2 separate regions of the Homo sapiens genome follow, and region 2 is linked to region 1. Evidence: promoter capture Hi-C in human tissues and cell types (Jung and others, 2019). All regions are on one chromosome and are shown on one strand. The core of a region is centred on a gene start or on the middle of the fragment in contact, and the rest is flanking DNA. Distances in the headings are between cores, read along the strand shown. Region 1 holds the start of TMEM212 (transmembrane protein 212). Region 2 overlaps TNIK (TRAF2 and NCK interacting kinase).

What was found. The method cuts DNA at HindIII sites, captures the fragments that hold promoters and counts their contacts. A contact is called where the count stands out against the background at its distance.
Region 2: a fragment that was not itself captured here is called in contact with the fragment with the promoter of TMEM212 in region 1 in 1 of the 25 tissues and cell types used here (H1 embryonic stem cells).

What each region holds. Positions count from the first base shown.
Region 1 is chr3:171,838,400-171,844,877 of GRCh38, reverse strand. TMEM212 (transmembrane protein 212) reads right to left here and starts at 1,529. Exons shown (of 5, transcript NM_001164436.2): 1 at 1,336-1,529. The coding sequence starts at 1,494. The HindIII fragment of the contact is 5,921 bases long and covers 1-1,720 here.
Region 2 is chr3:171,062,300-171,068,643 of GRCh38, reverse strand. TNIK (TRAF2 and NCK interacting kinase) reads left to right here. Exons shown (of 33, transcript NM_015028.4): 31 at 1,909-2,068; 32 at 2,318-2,457; 33 at 4,680-6,344. The coding sequence ends at 4,763. Among named protein-coding and RNA genes, the nearest start is that of SLC2A2, 39 kb to the right of the region's middle. The HindIII fragment of the contact is 5,608 bases long and covers 725-6,332 here.

The DNA of each region.
Region 1 (6,478 bases), core at 280-2,779:
TTGTAACTCAACGACATAGGGGGCTATTCATAAATATTTATCTAATAAGTAGATTAAAATTTATATTTCCTGAGGTCTAGTTTTTAGGTGGTATCTCAGTTAAAGTTTTAACTTTTTAAAGATTTAAGATACTATCTCACACAACAGTGGCTACATTTTGTTTGTTTGTTTTGAGATGGAGTCTTGCTCTGTCACCCAGGCTGGAGTGCAGTGGTATGATCTCGGCTCACTGCAAACTCTGCCTCCCAGGTTCATGTGATTCTCCTGCCTCAGTCTCCTGAGTAGCTGGGATTACAGGTGCATGCCACCACGCCTAGCTAATTTTTGTATTTTTAGTAGTGACGGGGTTTCGCCATGTTGGTCAGGCTGGTCTCGAACTCCTGACCTCGTGATCCGCTCCCCTTGGCTTCCCAAAGTGCTGGGATTACAAGCGTGAGCCACCATGCCCGGCCAAGTGGCTACATTTTAATAGAAGATTCCTTAAGATCAAAAAGCTTCAATATTGAATTCTCCAGTCTCCAGTAGTGTCAGGCGTCACAGGAATCAATGAGAGAAGGATTTGTTGGACAGGTGGGTCTCTGTAACTTCTCTTAAATCATACCAGCATGGAAGCCAGTTACTCCCAAGACTAGATGTGCCCATTTTTTTTTGGTTGGAGAGCTAAGGGACCAGGCCAATCGTTTATCTGTGCAATGATTCAATGAGCGCACACGGAGTACTACTTAGTGTCGTACGCTGTACTTGGCACATGTACTTTCCTAGTGAATTGTGAAGTCCATCTTGAATTATTGAATTATTTGAATTATTTTCAAATAATTGAAAATTATTGAGTTATTTTCAGTTCAAACAGTTGCTTGCAAGAGAAAGGTGGAAAAACAAATATTTGGGGTTTGTAAATTTTGGGGCCATGTACATCTTAGTGTTTGCAATGAAAGCATTAGTTTGAAAATTATTTTACTTTGTTCTGTATTTTAAAATTACTTTTCAAGGTTTATGTTTTTTTCTAAATTCAAAATTCACATTTCAAAAGATTCTAATTTCTTAGCATATCAAGTTAAGTGGATTAAAATAAAATAACTTTTTAAGAATTTCTTGAGCAGCATGTCATTAAAAATACATAATATACATGTATACATGATAAAACAATATTAAGATCATTTTTATACTTAAAATGCAATTAATAGAAATCAATGTTCCAAGGCGGATTCTGATTTTTTGTGGAATTTTGACTTCTTTGTATTGTTAGAACAATTTAAAAGGATATGTTCTTCTGTTTTCCCTTTCCCTCCCACCTTCTTTTATTTTCTCAATATATTTAATAAACTATTTTCATACCAAAGCTCCATTCCAGATAGGACAAGCAATTCGAACACTCCATCCTGTGAACCAAGGCTTGTAAGAAAAGACAGGAAAGAAAGCAATAACTCCAGAGCATACACTGAGGATCCCCAGAGTAACAAGAATCCGGCCAGCAGCCTGGTAGAGGCCCTTCATTTTCCTTGGTGGCTTGAGGCCTTGGTCTCAAAGATGTTTTGTTACCAAAACATGAGCGTATGACAGGCCTCAGTAAATAGAAGTTTCTTAGAGACAGTAGCCACGACACATACGAACTGTTGATCTACTTGGAAACAAGATTCTATTTGTTTTACCAAAGATGAAATGTACTCAAATAGTCCTTGGCATAAATTTGACACAATAAATTCTAATAACAATTTATTTAAGAGAAAGAGAGAAAAAAATTATCCCTTGCTTTGGATTGCTGCCTTGATTCCCTTCATTCTGCCCTGTCCTGGGGAGTGACCACTTCCTGGCTTAATCAGATTCAAAGGCTTGCTGACTGAGCTAATTGTTTCTCAACTCAACCTGCCTAGTGGTTCCAGCATAAAGCCAACATCCTTTGTGTACAATAGATCCACATTCCCAGCACAATTTCCCACAAAACAAAGTAAAAATAAGCACCCTGGTCACTTTTCATTATATTTAATTTAAATGATTTCAACCCAAAGCAAGACCTTCACCTCCTTTCAAAGTTTAATTCCACTACAATTATTTTTGATAAAGATTTTTGATATGGATTCATTCCCAAATGGGCATGAACTTTATTATGGAGTTTTGCATTGTTTTCACTAAACCAGTTTCACCTTATTTTACTATTAATTTAATTTTCAATTAAAGTGTGATGATGGAAATGTATGCAGTTATAAAATAAAATAAACTTTGAGGAGCAATTCATCAGTTGAATAAAATGCTGATCCCCATTCATTCTTGAATCATAATTCTAATTTGAGATATTGAACTTAGGTACATTTAGGCAGTTACAAGTCATCTCTTACTTTTTCATGCATTTGAGAAAATGGTGTTATTTGATTTTGACTGATTGGATATATGTGGATGTCTGTTCAAAAAAATATCTTAAAAACACAGGTCAGTTTCTGAAGCCATCTGAATAATTTTCCTATTTAACATTAATACATTATTCCTTTTTACTGAAATAAAAGGATGAAAAATAATTTTATGAATGCAAATGAAGTGGTTTAGGACATCGATTTTGAGTCAGATGGAGCTGTGATCCGATTCTGGTTCCACTCTCTACCAGGTTTGTGTCCTTGAGTAAGGGCAAGTTACTTAACTTCTCTAGGTCTATTTATTCGTATGCGAAATGGGAATAAAAGTTAGTGTTTATCTTTAATGGATTTGGTTGAGAGGATTAAATGAGCTAAAACCATAAATGCCTAGCCCAGAGTTTAGCATAACGAAGATGTTCAGAAAGTTACTCTTGTTAAATTGGGATGTTCCACCTTTGGGGTCCTTCCATCGTGGGACAAAGGTGCACTTATTGTGGTTTTTTTTTAAATTCATCACCTTAAAAACATCATGTTTAACTCTTCCTGAACAATTTGGTAAAAACTCCCAAAGGACCCTCCCATATGTGGTGGAAAGAGAAGCTTCTCTCTGATTCTCTGCTTTTTTTCTTTCTGCCTTTCTGTCTTTAATAGCCATTCCACAGTTTGACCCAGATTTTGAAGCAGTTGCATTCCTGGATATACAGAATCCAGGAAACCAACTCATGCTTTCTGGTACAGCTGCTATTTCTTATCTCCTCTCAACACTGTGGGCTATATTCTCTGATTTTTTTTTTCTAACACCACTAGATAAATTTCACAAGGGCAGAGACCTTGCAAGTCTTATACATCCCTTAAATGTATGAGATATTCCCAGCGTCTACAACCTTGTCTGCATCAGAGCAGATACATATAGTAATAAGTATTTGTTGAATTAGTTGATTAATACATTAAACTTTCCCCTTTGTATTTGGGCTCTCCTGTCCCCCTGAAGCTGCACAAGTATAGAGCCATGTGAATCCACCACCGTCAATGAGTGTTGATGCTAGTTTGTTCCACTGATATGGGGGGGGAAGGGGTCGAGAGTGAAGAAAGACTTGTTTGTATTAGTATTTGGTTTGAGCTGTTTTGACTTTTTCCTTTACTTTTTATCTCAAGGTTATAGCTAGATGGTATGTCAATATGCTGTGGGTCAGATCACTCTCTCCTGTTTGCATGTTTGGAAAATAAAGACTGTTGAAATACTCATGTTAAACAGTACAAAGATGGCAAACAAAGAGAGTATTTTTTGTTTTAACTTGAAGGACCTTTTAAGTGCCTGTAACACTCACAGCCTAACCCTGACACTGCTATTGTGACTTATAAACCTGAATTTATTAGTGATTAGAGGAGCTGTTGCCACTTAATATAACAAAGAGAAGGAAGAGAGGTAGAATAGGGTTTCTCTCTGTGTGTTTTCCCGCAGGAATCTAGTCCCACTAATTTCATTAAAAAAAGGACATTTTCAGTGAGAGCAGCTACTAGGAAAGAAAAGAAAGTGTCACTGCTTCTGTCTTGGGCTTCCTCTCTGATCAGCCGTGTCTGTGTGCCCATGTCCTGGCAGCCAGCAAGGTTTATAGGGCCCCTGCTCCCTCTAGTCATCCCACGTGGCACTAACTGACTGCAAGTTGGGCCTGCAAGTTCTCCTAGGAGGTGGTGGTGTCAAGGTCGCTGTAGGCTGCTTTGCAGACTCCACCTTCTCCTCAACCCAGGGGATCCCAGGATCTTGGCTCAGGGAAAAAGGCGGTAGCTTCACCAAACACTTCAAGCCAGTTTTGCCACTGAAAACAAACAGAAAGCCCAAATTGACATTTTTATTCCAATGTTCCCCCCTCCACACCAAACACAAGAAATCATCAATCAATAAATCAGTCAAGCAAAATTAGACACTCAAAGAAGTGGAAGAACATCAGTGATGCGGAGAGAGGGAACCTGATATGAACATTCTCTACCTCTTTAAAATACATTCCTTCACATGTGAGCCTTAAAAATAACAGCTCTGTGGGGGCTATAGTCTTGGGATTTTTAAAGTAGGTTTCAAAGCTATGGAAGGAGTTCATTTTTGCCAAGTTAAAAGATAATGCAGCTCCAAACGAGAGATGAAATTAAAATGTTTTCTTTTCCTAGCAGCTTCAGATGACTAGCTTTATTTGTTTATGTATTAAAAAGGTAGCTCGTGTCCTAGAAAGAGTATGAGCTTTGGTGTCAGAAAGACCCAGATATTGAATATTCTATCTAATGCATACAAAAGGAATGAAAAAATTAGAAAAATTAACACTCGGTTAATATCAGTGCAATAAAGCAAAGATCATCAATAGATGTTAAAACCTTTGGATAAACGGAGAAAAAAATTACAATGCAAAAGAATATTTCTACCAAGTAGAAATATGGCAGCCACCTCAACCAAGTGATCAAACTTTACATCACCCAAAACAAGACAAACAGACATCATTGTCTCCTGATACAATACAATGCAAGCACACGCCATCTTCTGTGTAGTATTTTTGGCAAAAATATTTTAACCTGAATCTAATTATAAAGAAGCAATTAGATAAATCCAGATTATAGGGACATTTTGCAAAACACTGGCTTGGACTCTTCAAAATTATTCAAGTCATAAAAGACATTTAAAAAGCTGCAGGGACAATTGAGGAAGTTTAAGTATGGAGTTTATTTTAGATAATACTAGAGTATCAATGTTAAGTACCTTGGAAGGATGATTGGCATTATATTTATATAAGAGAATGTCCCATTGGTGAAACTGGGTGATGTTAGTGCTCTTTACAATTTTTTTCAGGATTTTTGTAGGTTTAATTTTGTTTTAATTTGTAATTTTAATTTTTTAGACACAGTGCCTTGCTCTGTCACCCAAGCTGGAGTGCAGTGGTACAATCATAGCTCACTATAACCTTGAACTCCTGGGCTCAAGCAATCCTCCTGCCTCATCCTCCTGAATAGCTGGGACAATAGGGCCATGCCACACCTGGTTAATGCTTTTTAATGTTTTTTTTTTCTGTAGAGATAGGATCTTGCTATGTTGCTCAGGCTAGCCTTGAACTCGTGGCCTCAAGTGATCCTCCAGCCTCAGCCCCCTAAAGTGCTGGGATTACAGGTGTGAGACATTTTTTGTAGGTTTGGAAATGTCAAGGTAAAAGCTGAGACAAGAAAAAACAAGATTTAGCTGTATTAACTGCATGAAATAAAAGGCGTGAGTTTTGCTCAGGCATATGGCCATGCTGGCTCAATAACCCTCATGATATTGATGAATCTGGGATGTGCAGGAAATGCAAGGCAAAAGCTGCTTTTCCCCTGTGCAGCACCAAGCAGAATCTGTCTTCCTAGAATCGGAATGATGGGACAGGTGTATTAGGTTAGACTGTGAAGGTGCGCCTCCCGTGCAAACACAATATAGGTATTTTTAAATATACTTTTGTGTCTTTCCAAATAGTCCAGTTTCTTAACTGGATTTAAAATCTTTCCAATGTTCATCCATAATGCACACTTCCCTTTGCTTTTTACTAGCTATTCAACTTCAACTTCGAGTGAACCCGCTCTTCTTGTAATGGCTTGGGGTTTAAAGAGAACAAAGTTCAATTTTTATCATCCCTAACTGGGAATTGTCAAATTTAATGTCATCCAATCTGCAAGATGTTTGGATCTAAATAGATTTGTACATCAGCCTGTGCTTACCTAACTCAGATTTTTATTTGCCTTTGGTATATCTGACCCGCAAATATGTTTTGAAATTATCTGGAATGTATCAGAATTTTCCCATGGTTTTTGAAGCAAAACACTTCATTGTGTCACCAGCAAACTTGCACAGCTAGCTGTCGTTTCACTCTCCCAAGCCTTGCAGCTGCAAGGAAAACCTCTTATTGGCTGACTTGTCCACGCCAGGCAGCCTCCCACAGGCTACTGTGGATATTGTCTGCCTTTTGGAGAGGCTACTCCTGTCTTGTTTTATCATGGAGATAGAGGAGTCACGGACAGAACTGTAATTGTGACCACAGCTGTGATTGATTGGTGCTTTGGCCACCAAGGAGAGGAAAAGAAACTAAGAAAACAGGAAGAGAGAAACAGTGGGGGTGTCTGGGGAA
Region 2 (6,344 bases), core at 2,279-4,778, 780 kb after region 1:
ACATAATAGAAATCATTTGGCATTTACATGTTGTCTCTTTGGACTTTAGATTAAAATGAATATGACATATTTCTTTCAAGGGCATGAATTATATTCGGTAGACAAGTTTCCACATTCAGTTTTTGAAGGGAAATTCGTTCATTTTATGTTAGAGAAAGCCAATGGTCAGGTACTAATTTATTGGAGAAAATTCTTTTTTTGCTATTTTTAGTTCCTCTCTTCAGCTTGAGGGCAGTGTGGTACACTGGAGTCAGACACAGTGGCTCTAGCATGTATTAGCTTTGCAGTAATGGACACAGTAGGCAGCCTCTCCAATCCTCAGCTTTCGCATCTGTAAAATATGGATAAAAAGACTTATCCCATAGGATTATCATTAGTATTAAATGAGGTAATGGATCTAAAGCAGTTGGTACAGGGCCCTGCAAATTGTAGATCTTCTTATTAGCCCTAAAATATTCATATTACTATCCTGACATATTGCTTGAAACATAACTGTTAAAGGGAAATGCTGCACATGGATTCACTTATTAGGATTAAGTGTAGTGTAAAGTGTGTGTCCTGTGTGTAATCCCAAGACTAACACACAGGAGAAACTATTTATCAGGAATGTTTGAAGCTACCGCTGACTGGTATTTTGAGAGTTTTAAGACTTTATTCTAATGAAACGCAATAACTAAAAGAAGTTGTTTCAGTATATTACATACACACACACGACTGCCATTCATTGCTGCATTATTACCACTTTTAACTCATGTGGATGTGGGTGAACACAAGGACTCACAGCTCACATTCCTGGTGAGGCAGCTAAGGTGTAACTATGATAATCCTCAACTCTCTTAGTCCAATCTGTCAAGCACATGTTGGGCTGCCATGGCATTCTCAACTAGGGGATCACAACAACATCACATTTCCTTTCCTAGAACAAATTAATATACACTTATTTCAATAGTGATTTTTTTTTTTTTTTTTTTGGATACGGAGTCTCGCTCTGTCACCCAAGCTGGAGTACAGTGGCGTGATCTCGGCTCACTGCAAGCTCCGCCTCTCCTGGGTTCACACCATTCTCCTGCCTCAGCCTCCCGAGTAGCTGGGACTACAGGTGCCCACCATCATGCCCGGCTAATTTTTTGTATTTTTAGTAGAGACGGGGTTTCATCGTGTTAGCCAGGATGGTCTCGATCTCCTGACGTCGTGATCCGCCCGCCTCGGCCTCCCAAAGTGCTGGGATTACAGGCATGAGCCACTGTGTGCGGCAATAATGATTTTTTTTAATGAGTGGTCATTCTAAATATTTTTTCTAACCAAGCCATGAATTATTCTGGCATTTAGACACCCGGATAAACAATCCTATATATATATTTTTTTTTCACAGATTATTTTGGTAGTTCATTTTGACCCCACTTAAGCTATCTCCATTAGATTCAGCTGGCTTACATTCTCCTCATCTTCTTTTGGAAGTGGTTGTGCTAATAGAAAACACATTAATTTCAACGTCAGCAAGATATACACAAATCCCAACTCTACCAACAAATACTAGCACAACTTTGGTTAAGACACAAAGCCCTTCTGAGATGCAGTTTCCTCATCTGTAAACAAAGCTATCTACCTTGGGGAGCTATTGTAGGTACTAGAAATTATATATGTAAAGGGCCCCATGACTGGCACATAGTAGGTGTGCCATAGATTTACATGCTCTTTTTAGGAACAGGTAAATTGAATTTTTAATCTAGTGACTAAGTTTGATTTACCAGGGTATTTTACAAGTCAGTGGTTAAATTAAAGCAAATTTCAGTCTTTAGGGTGACAATGAAAATAAACAAAAACCTCTTTTTTGCAGTTGTTAGAGATGAATAGTCAAGGTGTTTTATTTTTTAAAAGAATAATGCTTGGCTTTTCTTTGTCTTCTAGATTCAGGGCAATATCACTCCTCATGCTATTGTCATCTTGCCTAAAACAGATGGAATGGAAATGCTTGTTTGCTATGAGGATGAGGGGGTGTATGTAAACACCTATGGCCGGATAACTAAGGATGTGGTGCTCCAATGGGGAGAAATGCCCACGTCTGTGGGTAGGTTAACCATTCCTTATCTCCTTCAGCAGTTACACCCCCCAAATGAAACGAAAATCAAGAAATGTGAAACAACCATTTGATTCCACAAAAAAAAAAAAAAAAAAATCTGTGAATAACTCTTGTAAGACTTGCTTTGTCCATTTATCTCAAGTCGTTTGTCATTTTTGTGGTTAAGATGTGAACAGATGCTGTGAGTTATTGCCCATCTAATGTTTTTAATGCAGTTTTGGAAATTCCTTTTGACAGCCTACATTCATTCCAATCAGATAATGGGCTGGGGCGAGAAAGCTATTGAGATCCGGTCAGTGGAAACAGGACATTTGGATGGAGTATTTATGCATAAGCGAGCTCAAAGGTTAAAGTTTCTATGTGAAAGAAATGATAAGGTAAATCCGTTTCAACATTTGCATTAGTGTTTGCATTTTAAGAGACCACCAGGTACCTGTGAAACCTTCATTTTCCTTTATACTGATTTGAATCACATCTGTGTTAAACAATCAATATTATCTTGAAATGGCATTATTTGGTTTGATCCATGTGAGCACTCAATATATTATTCACATGTCAAAAACTACATAAAAACATTTAGAAATTTCTTGTAAACCTCTTAGAAACCTTTGTGGCCTAAAGGCCTTTTGATGACTCAGCAGACACCCCAAATTCTCCTAAGCACTTAGAGCAGTTGGCCCATCATTAATCATCTCACAGTGGGTCAACTTTATACTTCCACTTTTAGACTTTTCACAAAGTCACTTTCAAGACCTAACCAATCACCTTATATTCACCTTTAAATCCAAAACATTTGACGTTTAGAAATATAAGCTTTTTAAAAATGTCACCCATTCCTTAAGGAATGCACAATCACAAACTCAACTAGTGCCATGTCTTGTGTCATTCCAGCCATGTTTCTTCTGAAATGTCATAGGTGAACTGTTTTCCAGTGAAATTGGCTGTGTCCGTCTGGCATGATCAGTGACCTCAGAGGGGTATTCTGCAGCAGTACTGCTTCTCCCTTACCCTCCCTGTAGAGTAACCCCGAGGTTTTAGTAGCTAAGCCATACTGCATTTGTGAATTCATCCTTTGTGGCTGTGGCCAACATAGAAATGCTGTCCCCAAAGCCACAGACATAAACGCCTATAGAAAAACAGTATGATGGGTTGAATTTTTGTATATCCCTTTGTCCACCCCAGTTCCCCAAAGGTCAGGTTGGTCTTAGTCCAAACCTGGTGATGTGGGCCTAAACTATATTCAACCCTGGCCCACTACTCTGACCTGATGTGGTCTGGGTGGACAGTAGCTGCAGGTGGCAAAGATGGTTCCAGCCATTTAGATTTCCCAGAAAACAAACATAACCTAGTAAAACTCCAGCTCCCACCCAGTCTCTAAGAATCAAAAAACCAGGAGTGATCTGGGTATGGATACCCACATTCCGATTGAAAACCTACCCCAGCAGGGCTGTTCCAAGCCATGCCACACCCTTAGGAGTAGGCTGGGGCCACACCAGTTGTCTGCAACCCAAGGTTTACAGCCAGGGGCACACAACTTGGAGGGAAGAGCAGCCCTTTCTTTTCTTCATTGTGGTTTTCCATAGGCCCTCTCTGTCCTTCTCCGTTTTGATTCATTGACCCTAAGAGTAGCATTACTTTCATATGCAGCATTAGGTGAATGTCAAGCATTTCCAGAGACCTCCCTAAGAAGTTGTTGTTAGCATTCTTCTGAAGAAGCTGTAGAAATGAAGTAGCAGAGACTTTAGACTAGTGACAAAAGCAACTACCTAACAAAAGTTAGGTATTGACTGACTGAAGGGCTAGGCCATAGCCCAAAATATTACTTTCCTGGGGCAGTGGTTCTTTAACATTAAACATTCAGCTCAAGCAAGCAGTAACCCAAATTTTTCTCACGTTTGTCAGTTGTTTGATAAAATGACTTAACAGACTCAGACCTAATGGACTGTGGTTCTCCTCATTAATGCTATGATCTCATTTGCCCTGGGATATGCCACCATCAGCAGAGAAACCATGCGTTAACTCTTGAAATGCCAAAATGAGTAGGCATTAAATACCTTGCCCTATCTGACCACACTATTTAATGTTTTTATCTTAAATTTAAAAAACTGAAATCTGAAACTGTATGATAGTCAGTAGGCCTAAAACTCCCCCTTGACTTTGAGAATTTGAAGGGATTCCCTTCCATCCTGAAGTCTACTTTCTTGTCATTTAAGGGTGAGAGAAGGGAAGCTTCTGTGCCTTTCTAGAAATTAACAAAGAACCTGTTGGGTCCTAGACCAGAAATCCAGCACGTTATCCTAGCATGAAACTCCCTTTTAAAAAGTGAACACCCAAAGAGATGTTACAAATGAAGATATAGCCCCTTCAGCATCTCTGGAGACCAATACCACAATAAGGAATAATAACAACCTAGGAATAAAGGCAGGAGTTTTTACATAGGATGCACGATATCCAAAGGGACTTTATAAACACAAGCCATTGAGTCTTAAGACCTGACACATGGCAAGGATAGGACATGTGAGAGAAAATGGATGGACGGTTGAAGAAAAGAGGGGAAAAGACCATGCAGTTGAACTAACTTCTTTTTAATTTCAAACAGGTATTTTTTGCATCCGTGCGATCTGGAGGAAGTAGCCAAGTGTTTTTCATGACCCTCAACAGAAATTCCATGATGAACTGGTAACAGAAGAGCACTTGGCACTTATCTTCATGGCGTTATTTCTAATTTAAAAGAACATAACTCATGTGGACTTATGCCAGTCTAGAGGCAGAATCAGAAGGCTTGGTTGAACATATCGCTTTCCCTTTTTCCTCTCCCTCCGCCCCTCCCAGTACAGTCCATCTTTCAATGTTGCAGCCTGGTTGAGAAGGAGAGAAAAAGGTGGCAGGAATTTCCAGGAGATCCCCAAGAATGCTGCCTTGTCTGTGGACAAAGATGGACCATGTGCCCTTCGGAATTAGGGATAGAAACAAATATTGTGTGCTCTTAACGATTAAGCTGTGTTATGGTGGGTTTTCAGGTTTTTACCTTTTTTCTTTACCCCTTTACTCTGCAAGAATGGGGAAAGAATGCATACTGCGAAAATGAGTCTTTTAAATTCTGTCTGCCTACTAGTTTTAAGTATATGGTATGTTGTAAAATTTCCAATGATGAGAGACAGCACAATAAATGTACCTTATCTCCTTAGGCTGAAGGCCATAACTACATAGTGGAGTAATTTAAGAACTCTCTTGCCTTCACCAACCCAAAAGGTTGCTTTTTGATAGCAACTGGCTAATGAATTTTTAAAAAGAGAAGAAAAATACTAGTTTTCCCCTCTTTTGGGAAATAGATTTTAAATGGCTAAACTACTAGCCTTAAAACTACTAGTCTAATAAAATCAACTACCACTTTTGTGAATCTGACAGGCCACATTTTTATATGGCCCTTTACAGAATGGAGTGTGTTGAACAGGATACTAACGCCATTGAGTTGAGCTGGCCTAGCGATGGAGGGACACTCTAACACAACTTTCCCTCAGCTATTATGCAACAGATCAGGGAAAAAGATGGGATGACAGATGGGGTCAGACAGAAAGAGCTTCTGGGAAACAAGCTTACATAGTCTTTTTTAAAATGCACAAAGCCTCCCAGCTAAGAGGTCACTTGGTTTGGGCTTCATTAGGACTGAGACTTTGTTGAGTTCTTTCTGGGACTTGGAGAGTGGATGATATTCAGGCTCTGAACATTCCCAGCGCTCTCCCGAGGGTGCCACTTTCTCAAGATGAAAACTGTGACTGAAAAAATTAATAATAAATGTTTCTGAGCTGCCTGTGTTCTCCCTGTGTGGGTGAGAGAAGGGACTAGACTCCTAAGCCTGCCTCAGATACAAGAGGCATCATTGGCTCCAATTTTAGAGAACTTGAAAGCAAGGCTTTGGACAAAATTTTGAGACCCTAATCACTTTACCTTCCTCCAAATTACCCAACATACGGTAAACAACATTTGTGCAGAAGTATGTATGTATTTAGTTCAGGTTGACTTGTGTCCTTATAAACTCTTACTCAAATGATTTGAACTTTTATGCGACTGGGATTTTTTTTTTCCAAAGCTACAAGCATGGCCGCCTGTGGTATCGAGGTGTTGCAAACAATATCTGTGTTGCGCTTCCTGTTTTAACCTACCTCGTTTTGTTTGTTTTTGTTTCACTGTTCATCACAGCAGTGTTATCTCCAGGAGACATATAGAGAGCTCAACCGGCAATCTCAGGTGCATTTAACATTTT